2 separate regions of the Homo sapiens genome follow, and region 1 is linked to region 2. The links are contacts of gene promoters, found by promoter capture Hi-C in blood cells and fetal thymus (Javierre and others, 2016). All regions are on one chromosome and are shown on one strand. Each heading gives the region's core, a stretch centred on a gene start or on the middle of the fragment in contact. The rest is flanking DNA. Distances are from core to core; before and after follow the strand shown.

Evidence for each region. The method cuts DNA at HindIII sites, captures the fragments that hold promoters and counts their contacts. A CHiCAGO score of 5 or more calls a contact.
Region 1: a contact is called between a fragment that was not itself captured here and the fragment with the promoter of MRPS21 in region 2, in 3 of 17 cell types (naive B cells, neutrophils and M1 macrophages). The highest score is 6.2, in naive B cells.

The regions. Positions count from the first base shown.
Region 1 is chr1:149,958,226-149,965,246 of GRCh38, forward strand. OTUD7B (OTU deubiquitinase 7B) reads right to left here. Exons shown (of 12, transcript NM_020205.4): 6 at 5,997-6,124; 7 at 1,459-1,571. Among named protein-coding and RNA genes, the nearest start is that of MTMR11, 25 kb to the left of the region's middle. The HindIII fragment of the contact is 2,620 bases long and covers 1,513-4,132 here.
Region 2 is chr1:150,292,108-150,299,502 of GRCh38, forward strand. MRPS21 (mitochondrial ribosomal protein S21) reads left to right here and starts at 1,754. Exons shown (of 3, transcript NM_031901.6): 1 at 1,754-1,791; 2 at 2,228-2,342. The coding sequence starts at 2,260. LOC105371434 (a long non-coding RNA gene) reads right to left here and starts at 1,713. Exons shown (of 2, transcript XR_922129.4): 1 at 1,525-1,713; 2 at 1,193-1,390. RefSeq lists enhancers at 2,042-2,101, 4,935-5,492. The HindIII fragment of the contact is 15,404 bases long and covers 1-3,704 here.

The sequences.
Region 1 (7,021 bases), core at 1,573-4,072, 330 kb before region 2:
ACCACCAGAGAATTTTGAAGCAAATCCTGGACATTATATAATTTCATCCATTTTTATTTTATTTCAGTTTCTATCTCTAAAAACATAAAGGACTACCTTTTTTTTTTTTTTTTTTTTTTTGAAATGGAGTCTCACTCTGTCGCCAGGGCTGGAGTGCAGTGGCACGAACTCGGCTGACTACAACCTCTGCTTCCTGGGTTCAAGCAATTCTCCTGCCTCAGCCTCTCGAGTAGCTGGGATTACAGCCGCCTAGCACCACGCCCAGCTAATTTTTTGTATTTTCAGTAGAGACAGGGTTTCACCACATTGGCCAGGCTGGTCTCGAATTCCCGCCCACCTCGGCCTCCCAAAGTTCTGGGATTACAGGCGTGAGCCACTGCGCCTGGCCAGGACTACCTTTTTAAACAACCACTATACCATTAATATCACATTTTATAATTTTAACAATAATCAAACACAGAGACATTGTTCACATTTCCTTAATTGTCTTATGATGTCCACACATCCCAACTGGTTGATGTCTTTTTTTTCTTTTAGAGACAGAGGTCTCTCTTTGTCACCCAGGCTGGAGTGCAGGGGTGCTGTCACAACTCACTGCAGCCTCGACCTCCCCAGCTCAGGCAATCCTCCCACCTCAGCCTCCCAAGTAGCTGGGACTATAGGCATGCACCACCATGCCTGGCTAATTTTTTTTTTTTAAGATGTGGTCTCACTGGCCAGGCATGGTGGCTCATGCTTGTAATCCCAGCACTTTGGGAGGCCAAGGTGGGTGGATCACTTGAGGCCAGGAGTTTGAGATCACCCTGGCCAAAATGGTGAAACCCCGTCTCTAATAAAAATACAAAAATTAGCTGGGCGTGGTGGCATGCATCTGTAGTCCCAGCTACTTGGGAGGCTGAAACAGAGAATCACTTGAACCCTGAAGGCAGAGGTTGCAGTGAGCAGAGATCACACCACTGCACTCCAGCCTGGGCAACAAAGTAAGACTCTGTCTCAAAAAAAAAAGAAAAAAAAGAAAGAAAAAGAAAGGGGGTCTCACTATGTTACCCAGGCTGGTTTCGAACTCCTGGGCTCACACGATCCTCCTGCCTCAGCCTTTCAAAGTGCTGAGATTACAGGTGTGAGACACCACACCCGGCCTGATATGTCTTTTTAGTCCATTTAAACCTACAAGTTCCTGGTCCCTTTTTATTTTCCTTGCAGTTTACTTACTGAAGATACTGGGTCATTTGTCCTGAAGTTTCCAAAGTCTAGATGGGCTACTTTATATTCCAGTTCAATACCGAACTACCTGTAGTTCCTAAACATATCATGTTGTTACACACTTTTGTGCCCTTAGCATAGTTCCCCTCTTTCCTTCTAATATCCTCTTAGCACAGAGCTCTCTAGACACTGGGCTGTGGAAGCCCAGTGAGGACTCTATGCAGGTTTCCTCCTCCCCTACTTAGCCATACTTACCCACCACAGTTGGCTCCATTGGTACCTAGATGCATTCGGGGTTCACTTGAGGCAAGCTTGATCAGTTCATTCCACTCCTTCTGCCATTCATCTTCTGTGTATACCAGCCCTGACTGTGTGAAGGACAGGCAGGGGACATTGGGCAATTAGAGGCTGGGTTCTAAGAGGCAATACCTATTCCACCTTATTCACTGTTACTTACTCCCTAATCCCTTAGCACTTGGTTTACAAATTGTACTACAAAGTCAAATCTCTTATCTCTTTTACAGTCAAGATCCATGAACTAATAGTCTATGACTATTAAACTTCTTTATCATCCATTCTTTTTGACCTACTGCAATCTGTCCCATTTCTGCCCTCCATCCTGCTCACCCACCTGCCACATAACATTTCACCTACCTGATTTTGGCAAAGAACAATGACCTTCTAATTGCCACATTCAGTGGACCCTGGTTCCCATCTTAGCCTTCACATGGGTTATTTTCCTCTTTAAATTTTCTTTGCCATTAGCGTCCATAAAATTACTTTCTATTCCTCTAAATTCTGTCTGCCCCCAAAATACTAGTGGTGTGTCAATGATTTTCACCTTGGTTCCCTCTGGGTGATCTCTTCTACTGCCATAATCTCATCCACTACCATCTGTATGGTATATACCATCTATCTCCAGCCCAGATTTCTTAATTTCTTTTCTTTTTCTTTTCTTTCCTTTTTTTCTTTTTTTTTTTTTTGTAGACAGAGTCACCCAGGCTGGAGTGCAATGGCACAATCTCGGCTCACTGCAAACTTCACCTCCCGGGTTCAAATGCTTCTCCTGCCTCAGCCTCTCGAGTAGCTGGGATTACAGCACCCACCACCAGGCCCAGCTAATTTTTGTATTTTTAGTAGAGACGGGCTTTCCCCATGTTGGCCAGGCTGGTCTCGAACTCCTGACCTGGTGATCTGCCTGTCTCAGCCACCCAAAATGCTGGGATTACAGGCATGAGGCACTGCACTCAGCCTAGACTTCTTAATTTCTATATTCATATATCCAGCTACCTACTGGAGACTGCCACCTGCCCATGGCTACCTCAAACTCTGTAAAGTCAAAATAGAACTCCTGTTTTTTCCCAAACCCACTCTTCTTCCTATTTTCCTACCTTAGTGAATAGCACCAACTATCACCCAAACATCCAAGCTCAAAACCAAGGAATTATCTAATATTCCTTTCTTTCTTTCACCCACCCCACACCTGGATACCTTCTTTTTTTTTTTTTTTTTTTTTGAGACAGAGTCTCACTCTGTCGCCCAGGCTGGAGTACAGTGGAACGATCTCAGCTCACTGCAACCTCCACCTCCCGGGTTCAAGCAATTCTCCTGCCTCAGCCTCCCAAGTAGAAGTGCTGCATACAAAGCCTACTTTCTGGCCCCTACCCACTTCTCTAGTCAGATATATCTCACTGAATCAGCTGTAGTTCCTGAAATATACCATGTTGTTTTATACCACTGAGCTTTTGTCTAAGCTGTTCCTTCTGCCTGGAGTAGCTCACTTTCTGTCAACCTTGTGAACAATTTCTCAACTTTTAGGACAGAACTCAGGTATCATTCCTCCAAATAGTCTTCTAAATCTCCCTTGGCAGATCAACCACTCCTTCCTTTGTATCCTCTCTCCCTAACTGCTATAGAGTTGTTGTTGTTTTTTTGTTTGTTTGTTTGAGACAAAGTCTTGCTCTGTCACCCAGGATGGAGTGTGGTGGCATGATCTTGGCTCACTGCAACCTCCACCTCCCAGGTTCAAGCAATTCTCCTGCCTCAGCCTCCGGAGTAGCTGGGACTACACGTGCACACCACCATGCCTGGCTAGTTTTGTATTTTTAGTAAAGACGGGGTTTCACCATGTTGGCCAGGCTGGTCTCGAACTACCAACAGGTGATCCGCCTGCCTTGGCCTTCCAAAGTGCTGGGATTACAGGCATGAGCCACCGCATCCGGCCAGCATTAACTGCTATAGAGACGTCTATTGTAAGAGTCATACATGTTATAACCTGTTGCAATTATGTATTTACATGTCCATCTCCTCCTCTATGCTAGGATCATGTTTTATGCAATACACCCAAGGTCTATTTTGTGACTATAATCAATAAACATATGCTAAGTGAAACTACAATTTTTATCAAAGGAGAGCAGGCAATGGTACAAGCAATTTTAAAATACATTGGCTTTAGGATGTATATAATGATAAGGGAAATAAGTTTAACTTATTAATTTTATTTGGCTGACATTAGTATTAAAATGAGTCTATACGGCTTAACCGCACACTGACAGAGTAGAAGGAAATCACTGGAAACATGAGGGGTACTGGGAACAAATTTAATGGGAATTTTTTAAATGACACAGCTATTTTCAATTTGTAAAATGCTATCACAAATTTTACTTCAATTAAAAATAAAGAGAGCAATGCCCAGGTTCTATATGGAGTGCTGCAGTCACTCCAATAGACACATCCAGATCCGGCTCCCTCTTCCTGGCCGGTTTCTGCTTCCTGTTTTAATGTACACAGCCACTAGGTGGTGTACAACTTCTAGCCTTAACATTTAAGAAACTATTACTGAGCCTCACCACCAATTTCAACATAAAACAAGGAAGCCCAGGAAATCAAAACTTATTTAGTGTGGTTTTGGTACTGGGGAGCTAAAGGAAGCTTCCCCAGTTCATTATCCTCCTCCTACCATTCCCACTCCCAAGGTGGGTAATAATGCTATGAATGGTCTAAGCTAAGACAATTATGAAAGCCACATTTTCAGTATGAACTTTCACTGTGCTGAGCAAAAGGACTAAAACTATTGCTCCATTACTAGCCACTATTCTCTATGCATGTTGGGGACTTTCAGATGGAAAGGCTGACTTTGAGAGGGAAAGGCTGGCTGGCCAAGGATAGAACGTGGGTATTTCTGGGTTTCCTGGCTAAATACCATTATAATCTAACCCCATCTTTAGAATAATAACTAATTGCTTTAATAACTGGAATTGGGCACACTTAATTTTCTGGGTGTTGCTGTCATTTCTACTTAATAGTTGGCATGTTCTGGTTTGGCCTTTTCTTGCCTCTGCAGTGGTTAAGGTTCCGGTATTATCTGAACTCAACAGTGAAGAGGACAAAGCTGACTACCACAAAACTGACTACTGATTTGCTCTGGATTCTAAATTCTAGGCTAGCTCTAGCTCAGGCAAAAGCTTTCCACGAGATCCAGCCAAGCTTTTGGTGCTAAAAAAGAATGTCAAGTACTTATGTGGCCTTGCCCCTGTGGGTTTATTTCCCTCAGGAATCTTCTGGGGAAGACTGGCTGCTCAAGGAGAGGATTCTGATCTTAATATCATCTACTTTTAACAACTGGATTATTTGTTTTTGAGGAAGAAACATAGCATGTTCTACTTACATATTAAATCTTCAGGATATAAAATTCTAAATAACTAAAACAAAAAAACTCTTCTATATTGTCAAGTTATGACAGCAATAAAATGAGAAAAAAAGAAAGGTGGATGAAAAAGGAAAGTTTCTGAAGAGATATTGCCATACTAAATGCCAGAAAGATCCAGCCATAACATGGCAAAAAAAAAATAGATATACATAAAGAGCAGGAGATATAAACATAGCACAGAATCACAGGAAAAGGAAATAGGGAGCCTCATTATTTTTATGTAAAGGCATAATGTCATTATTGAAGGGAAGTAATCAGCAAACTTTTTCTGTAAAGGGCCAGGTAGTCAGTAAGTATGGGCTGTGCAGGCCACATGTTACTACTGTGCTGCTGGAGGAAGAAAGCAGTTACACGTGTAAACATCCAAGAAATGCCCAGGGCTGTATTCTGATAAAAGGTTTTTTTGTTTTTGTTTTTTTTTGTTTTTTTTTTTCTTACAAAATAGCCATAGTTTGCGCAACCCGTTTTGGAGAGGGCAAGTACAAACAATCTGTTGTTACTGCCTTATATAACAGCAGCCTCAACATTTGACAAACTCCTGAGAAGTACTGTTCAGACTCAATTAAATAGGTATGCTTTTTGTGTGTGTGTGTGATTAGAATGCTGGTTCCTTATGCTTTTTAAAATTTAAAATAAACTAAAACTGAGTATATGAAAAACAAATGGTATATATGTCCTAAAAGATTTTAACCATTCACATTTCTATAGGGGCTGAAAACATAAGTCTTTAAAAATTGATCTAGCCTTATTACAAGCAAAAAAACAAAACAATACAAAAATCCTATGGAATTGTCATAACTCATTTTGCAAAACACTGCCACTAAAAGCTATAAAGCACCTACTGGGGGAAAAGCACAATGTTAGATAACCTCTCTGTAGGTCTCATGCCCACCACCAGTTCTCATGACCACATCAGAAGGCATTTACCCCATTGGTGTTAACTGCATTTTCTCCAATTTTCAGGATCATAAGGGGAGTCACACTGACCTAAACACTTGGAAATATTTTCTACTGGCAGGCACCCAGTGACTTTGGCAGCTTGGTAACTTTAGGAAACAAGGCGCTCCCACCCACGCTCTCCCACCTCTTTATTCTGCTGTGTCTGCTGCCACCTCCAGCGCCTTTTCAACGCTTCCTTCTCAACTCCCTTCTCCATCAGTGCATACAAAGCTTTCCGCAGCATCAAGTCCCGATCATGGAAACCCCACATTCCTGTGGCAAAAAAGCATAATGGTAAGATACCTCAGCTTGACTCTGCTAATTTTTGTATTTTTAGTAGAGATGGGGTTTCACCATGTTGGCCAGGCTGGTCTCAAACCCCTGGCCTCAAGTGACCCCCCTGCCTTACCCTCCCAAAGTGCTGGGATTATAGGTGTGAGCCATGGCACCAGGCTGCAAATAATATATTAAGTTGTAAATTGACTTAATTTTTTGTTTATTTGGTTTTTTATGGGTTTTTTTGGTTGGTTTTTTTGAGACAGAGTTTCACTCTGTCCCCCAGGCTGGAGTGCCATGGTGTGTTCTTGGCTTACCGCAACTTCCGCCTCCCATGTTCAAGAGATTCTCCTGCTTCAGCCTCCCGAGTAGCTAGGATTACAGGTGTCCACCACCATATCAGGCTAATTTTTGTATTTTTAGTAGATACAGGGTTTCACGATGTTGGCCAGGCTGGTCTCGAACTCCCAACCTCAGGTGATCCACCCACCTTGGCATCCCAAAGTGCTGGGACTACAGGCGTGAGCCACCACGCCTGACCTTTTTTTTTTTTTGTAGACAGAGTCTTGCTTTGTTGCCCAGGCTGGAGTACAGTGGTGCGATCTCGGCTCACTCACTGCAACCTCTGGCCCCCGGATTCAGCAATTCTCCTGCCTCAGCCTCCCTAGTAGCTGGGATTACAGGCATCTGCCACCATGCCCAGCTAATTTTTTTATTTTTAGTAGAGATGGGGTTTCACCGTGTTGGCCAGGCTGGTCTCAAACTCCTGGCCTCAAGTGATCTGCCCACCTTGGCCTCCCACAGTGTTGGAATTACAGGCGTGAGCCATTGAGCCCAGCCCTTACTTTAAATATTAAGCCTATTTACAGTGGGGCATGGTGGCTCCCACCTGTA
Region 2 (7,395 bases), core at 504-3,003:
TTCAAGGTCATAGGCCTGATGAGTATTAGAATTGGGATAGAATCCAGATCTCCCAACTTTGAAGCCAGTGCCTTTCACCACATTATGCTGTGGCATATTTTATTTATTATTTGTTTGTTTATTTATTTTTTGAAATGGAGTTTCACTCTTGTTGCCCAGGCTGGAGTGCAATGGTGCGATCTCGGCTCACTGCCACCTCCGCCTCCCAGGTTCATGTGATTCTCCTGCCTCAGCCTCCCAAGCAGCTGGGATTACAGGCATGTGGCACCACGCCTGGCTAATTTTGTATTTTTAGTAGAGACAGGGTTTCACCATGTTGGCCAGGCTGGTCTCAAACTCCTGACCTCAGGTGATCTACCCGCCTCAGCCTCCCAAAGTGCTGGGATTACAGGCGTGCGCCACCGCGCCTGGCCCTATTTATTTATTTATTCATTTTTAATTTTTTGAGACAGGGTCTCACTCTATTGCCCAGGCCAGGGTGCAGTGGTGTGATCAAAGCTCGCTGCAGCCTTGACCTTCCAGGCTCAGGTGATCCTCCCCCTCAGCCTCCCAAGTAGCTAGGACAACAGGCCATGCCACTACACCCGGCTAATTTCTATATTTTTTGTAAAGACGGAGTTTTGCTTTGTTGCCCAGGCTGGTCTCGAACTTCTGGGCTCAAGTGATCCGCCTGCCTTGGCCTCCCAAAGTGCTGGGATTACAGGTGTGAGCCACCGCGTCCAGCCCATATAATTTATTTTGCATTTATTATATACTACTTTGTTTTAGTATCTTTTATGTGGTCCTAGTGGTCCAGGAGGCACTAGAGTGGTATCAACAGTATCTGACACAGAGTAGTCATTCAGTGAAAGTTTGTTGACAAGCATAATAATGTCCCAATCTAGTTCTATTTCGTTACTTTGGACCTGGCTTACTCTGAGGTGGGCTTAAGTGTTAGTGTAAGTTATTAGCATCAACTGATGATGCACACGTCTGTGTCTGTGTCTGTGTGTGTGTGTGTGTGCGTGAGCGTGCGCGCGCACTCTCTCTCTAAGGGAGGTACGTTTTCCTACAGCCATTAGATGTTAACTTACGTGAATAACCATAAATGGATATGTACAGGTAGCATACAAATAGGAGGACGGGTGTCTCCACAGCGAAGAAGAAATTTAAAAGGAGGTTTTTCAGTAGGTCTCATTAGCACGAAAAGGCATAGAAGCTGACATAATTTTTTATTCTAAACCCTGCAGGTGTTTCCCATATATCTTTATTGATTTCACTTTATGTAGTTAAATTAGTGGGAAGATGATATAGGAAACTCACAGTATGTTTATTTCTTTTCCTTAGCACTTAGGCAGATGACGTGTATGAATCAATCTATTTTTCGTCCGGAGAGCAGATCTCAAAGAGTCTGTCCTTTCCAAAGAGAAAACAGGAAGCATCCTCAGGAAGCGCCTACTTCTCTTGTTTTCCATCGAGAAAGAGAAATGGCTCAAATATTTATCAAGGATTTCACAGGATTAAGGGGTATGAAATTGGGCTGACCTTCTCAGAGGCCGAAGGACTTCGACTCCATGAGAGGGCGAGAAACGTGTTTCGGGGGAATTTAAGTCAATGAGTATTTTGCTTTGTCAGGTGTAGAGTCCAGGCCCGGGGAAGAGAGGCAGTCAACAGAGGCCAGAAAGGACGTTGCTATGGTTTCCACGCACGTTGTCTCCCTCGGCCTGTTTCTTTGCGCGGCGCTGGCGATTCCGTAATTTCCGCTTCCGGTAGTGAGAACCCTTCCGGTGGGCTAGGTACTGAGCGCGCGAGGTGAGGAGTTGTGCAGGGTTTGGGGAAAGGAAGGCTGGCTTGGCGAGAGGGCAGGTTTGCGGGCTTTCGCCCCCTTTTCCAAAGACCAACAAAGAGTCCTTCCCCAACTCCCAACTCAACCCCTTTTGGAACTATGTGTGGTGGTTGGGACCCTGTGGCGCATCCTTGTCGCTCGTGTCCTTCTCATGCCCGGCGACGCGTCTTTGTGGTAACGCCCTGCTGCCATCTCTTTTCTTCTCTATGCGAGGATTTGGACTGGCAGTGAGAATAAGAGACAACGATTCACGTCTACTTTCTAGGATGACTTCCATGTGCTCCATCTCGCGCGTCCCTGAGCATGTTGAATTTCCAAATCCTAAATAAGCCGCGCGGTGTAGTTTGTATTATGTTGCGTTTCTCTTTCTGCTTTCCTCGCCCTTTCTCCATCATCCTTTAGGCTCTACAGAGTGAAGGTTTAAATCCAAGGTCATGGCAAAACATCTGAAGTTCATCGCCAGGACTGTGATGGTACAGGAAGGGAACGTGGAAAGCGCATACAGGACCCTAAACAGGTAACTGTTAAGGGACCAGAATCATGCCTAGACTCTCTGGGAAGTGCGGTGGTTATTCTCTCCCTTCCCCTTTCGTTGATTGTTCTCAAAACAGTGCCAGCCCAGGTGTTCACAGTCTCTTAAAACGTCTCAGCCCCTCAGTTTATTATCTTAAAAATGAAGTTCTGGGCCGGGCGCGGTGGCTCACGCCTGTAATCCCAGCACTTTGGGAGGCCGAGGCGGGTGGATCACATGCGGTCAGGAGTTTCAGACCAGCCTGGCCAACATGGTGAAACCGTGTCTCTACTAAAAATACAAAAATTAGCCGGGCGTGGTGGCAAACGCCTGTAATCTCAGCTACTCGAGAGCTGAGGCAGGAGAATCGCTTGAACCCGGGAGGCAGAGGTTGTAGTGAGCCAAGATCGAGCCACTTGCACTCCAGCCTGGGCAAGAGTGAGACTCTATCTCAAAAAAAAAGAAAAAAAGTTCTTCCTCAAACCTAACTGTATGAATTGTATTCAACAAGTAATCACCCCCCGCACCTCCCCGCTTTTAATTTTAATTTTAATTTTTTTTTTTTTTTTTGAGGCAGAGTCTCGCTCTGTCACCCAGGCTGGAGTGCAGCGGCACGATCTCGGCTCACTGCAAGCTCCGCTTCCTGGGTTCACGCCATTCTCCTGCCTCAGCCTCCTGAGCAGCCAGTACTACAGGCTCCCGCCACCACGCCCGGTTAATTTTTGTATTTATAGTAGAGATGGGGTTTCACCGTGTTGGCCAGGATGGTCTTGATCTCCTGACCTCAAGTGATCTGCCTGCCTCTGCCTCCCAAAGTGCTAGGATTACAGGCGTAAGCCACAGCGCCCGGCCCCGCTTTTTAAAAATTGAGACAGGGTCTTGCTGTGTCACTCAACAATCCTCCTGCCTCAGTCTCCTGACTAGCTGGGTCTAGTGACGCACGCCACCACCGCAGTTAATTTTTGTATTTTCTGTACAGAGGGAGTCTCGCCATGTTGCCCAAGCGTAATGACTCCTTTTATGAGGAACCTGAATTCTTTAGAAGACTTAAAAAAGAGCCCAAATGGAAAATCAAGATGTGAAGTTGCTAGGAAGCGGGAACGTAGTATGATAAATAGAAAGCTGAGGGAGTGATTGGTGTGGGACAAAGCTAAAGGAAAAGGTGAATTCAGATTGGCATCCTAGAGAAGCAGGCAAAAGATGGGAAAGCTCACTGGGTGGGATGACTCACACCTGTAATCCTAGCACTTTGGGAAGCCTAGTGGGGAGGATTGCTTGTTGCCAAGAGTTCAAGACCAATCTGGTAAACATAGCAAGACCCCATTTCTAAAAATATTAAGAAGAAAGGGAAAAAAAGAAAGATGGGAAAGCTTACAAGTTTTCAGGAAAGATACAGCATAAGGAAAAATACATAAATGGAAACAAACTAGCTGGGGTGGAGGAGCTTTATAGCTTCATTGAAAATTTTTGAATGCCAGGCTAAGAGATGTAGAAGAGCCCTAGTAATACTTTTTTTTTTTTTTTTTTAAAACGGAGTCTTGCTCTGTTGCCAGGCTGGAGCGCAGTGGTGCAGTCTCGGCTCACTGCAGCCTCCGCCTCCTGGGTTCAATTGACTCTTCTGCCTCAGTCTCCTGAGTAGCTGGGACTACAGGTGCCCACCACCACGCCTGGCTGATTTTTGTATTTTTAGTAGAGAGGGTTTCACCACGTTAGCCAAGATGGTCTCAATCTCTTGACCTCGTGATCCACCCGCCTTGGCCTCCCAAAGTGCTGGGATTACAGGCATGAGCCACTGCATCCGGCCCAGCCCTAGTAGTACTTTACCACTGAATTCTCAAGCAAAAAGTTCTTAACCTTCCCTTCTCACCAGTTGTGTGGATTTTGACTTTCTGGTATGACTCACGCGTCATTTTCTTTCCCCAATGTGAAGTAACATTTGGAGAAACAAACGCTTGTTGAGTTGAATTATCAAAGAATTGTAAGGAAGGGGCTCCTGTAGTGCTAGCTGCTCCAGAGGCTGAGGCAAGAGGATTGCTTGAACCCAGGAGTTCAAGACTGTAGTGTGAGTGCACTCTTGTTGTGCCTGTGAATAACCACTCCACTCTAACCTAGGAAGCATAGTGAGACCATGTCTCTTAAAAAAAATGTAGGAAAGATATTGCATGGGCTGCATTAAGGCCTTTAATGTGGTAGCTTTATTTCACAAGTAAGGGAAGCCTTGGAAGATCAGATTATCTTTATTGGGTTATGCAGTTATTGAATGGTGGAGAGGAGCCTAAAGCACATCTTTTTAGTGCAATGTTCTTTAATAATTATTACTAGTCTTACTAGAAATGGAAAGACTTATGGTGGTTCATTTTCCAATTTAGAATCCTTGTCTTGTCATTTCAGCAGGTGTCGCTTTAAAAAAAAAACCAGAATCCTCATCTGATTGGGTTTAAATATTGGTAGGGTTCTTGAGGACTGAGAGGGCAAAGGAAAGGGAACCTAGTTCTTAGCAAAGCAGAGAGTTCTAGGTGTGGAAGGCTGGATGGCAGAAGACCACAGTGAGGAAAAAAATGCTGTCAGCCGGGCGCGGTGGCTCACGCCTGTAATCCCAGCACTTTGGGAGGCCAAGGCGGGCGGATCACGAGGTCAGGACATCGAGACCATCCTGGCTAACACGGTGAAACCCCGTCTCTACTAAAAATACAAAAGATTAGCCGGGCGTGGTGGCACACACCTGTAGTCCCAGCTACTGAGGAGGCTGAGACAGGAGAATCGCTTGAACCCGGGAGGAGGAGGTTGCAGTGAGCCGAGAGCGTGCCACTACACTCCAGCCTGGGCAACAGAGCGAGACTCTGTCTACAAAAAAAAAAAGAAAAAATGCTGTCAGAAGCTGTGTAAATGAGAAGCAGTTGCAGGCTCAGAATGGTTTCTATGTCTTTTAAAAGGATCTGGTCTTAGGGTCAGGCGTGGTGGCTCATGCCTGTAATCCCAGCACTTTGGGAGGTTCAGGCGGGTGGATCACCTGAGGTCAGGAGTTCAATACCAGCCTGGCCAACATAGCGAAACCCTGTCTCTACTAAAAATACAAAATTAGCCATATGTGGTGGCAGGCGCCTGTAATCTCAGCTACTTGGGAGGCTGAGGCAGGAGAATCACTTGAACCTGGGAAATAGAGGCTGCAGTGAGCCAGAATCGTGCCACTGCATTCCAGTCTGGGCCACAGAGTAAGACTCAAAAAAAAAAATCTGGTCTGGGGTCAGCCACATCACTTAATTCTATGTGCATAACAATTATATCCTTGGGCTGAAGCTGTTCCCTCTACATTGTCACCTATGCTGAGAGTAAAGATAAGTACCAGGTTGTAAGGTATCCTGTTTCATTTTTCTCTGTTTCTCCTCATTTCTAACTCTCCTATTTCATACCTTCTGGTGGCATGTCTGAGAAGTATATTATGTCTAATGACCTTTCTCTGGCCCTACTTTGCTATCTTGGAAGTACAAAATGAACTTTTTTTTTTTTGAGACAGAGTTTCACTCTTATTGCCCAAGCTGGAGTGCAATGGTGCCATCTCGGCTCACCGCAACCTCTGCCGCCCATGTTCAAGCGTTTCTCCTGCCTCAGCCTCCTGAGTAGCTGGGATTACAGGCATGCGCCACCAAGCCCAGCTAATTTTGTATTTTTACTAGAGATGGGGTTTCTCCAGGTTAGTCAGGCTGGTCTCTAACTCCCAACCTCACATGATCCACCCGCCTTGGCCTCCCAAAGTGCTGGGATTACAGGCTTGAGCCACTGCACCTGGCCTAAAATGAACGTCTTTATAGGTAACATCCAGACCCTGCAGTGAGTTAGCTAGGGAGATGAATGTTGAATTTGGGAAAAGGCATGTATTACGTGTAACTTCACTCTTTTTTTCTGACTTCTCCCTGTAAATCTTCTTCTGTATGATTTATTTTGGTAGATTTAGATAGGTCTTCTGGCCATGGTTGTTGAGATGTTTGTTATTGAAAGATCAAAGGATAGCTGTTGCTTAATGGTAAAACAAATTTCCAACAGGCTCAGTTTTAGTTCCCTTATTCCTAAAGTATAGATAACACAAAAGCAAGAATTTTGTTTTTAGAAAATTAGCTACTTTGACAAAAAACAACAAAATTTGTGGTACAGTATTATTTATTGAACCACTTTTTTTTTGAGACGGAGTCTCCCTCTGTCGCCCAGGCTGGAGCGCAGTGGCGCAATCTCTGCTCACTGTGACCTCCGCCTCCCGAGTTCAAGCGATTCTCCTGCCTCAGCCTCCCGAGTAGCTGGGACTACAGGCGCATGCCACTACCCCGGCTAATTTTTTGTATTTTTAGTAGAGACGGGGTTTCACCATGTTAGCCAGAATGGTCTCGATCTCCTGACCTCGTGATCTGCCCACCTCAGCCTCCCAAAGTGCTGGGATTACAGGCGTGAGCCACCATGCCCAGCTGAACCACTTCTTACAGTTGTATCAAGAGAGTAGCGGCTGGGTGCAGTGCCTCAGTCTTGTATTCTCAGCAATTTGGGAGGCTAAGAATGGTGGATCACTTGAGGCCAGGAGTTCGAGACTAGCCTGGCCAACATGGCGAAACCCCGTCTTTACTAAAAATACAAAAATTAGCCATGCATGGTGGCACAGGTCTGTAATCCCAGCTACTCCGTAGGCTGAGGCAGAAGAGCCGCTTGAACCTGGGAGGCAGAGACTGCAGTGATGCCCCATATCATATATGGAATGCATCCCCATTTACACCTAAAATTTGAAACAGAATCTGAGAAACAAAATATTTCTAATCTCCTTCCTGATCCTCTTCACTGATACCAGGTTTGCAGAAAATATAAGGCCAGCTCTTATCTTTTGAGAGAAGACTCTTATTTCTTTGTCTAAGATTGTCTATACCCCTTTTTATCTGCCTCTTTTAAAAATCCTTGTCCAGCCACTATATTTTTAATTTAATCAACACTCAGTTTTTGCTTTTCCTGTTTTTTTTTCTGTTTTTTGTTTGTTTGTTTGTTTGTTTGTTTGAGACGATGTCTCGCTCTTGTCCCCCAAGCT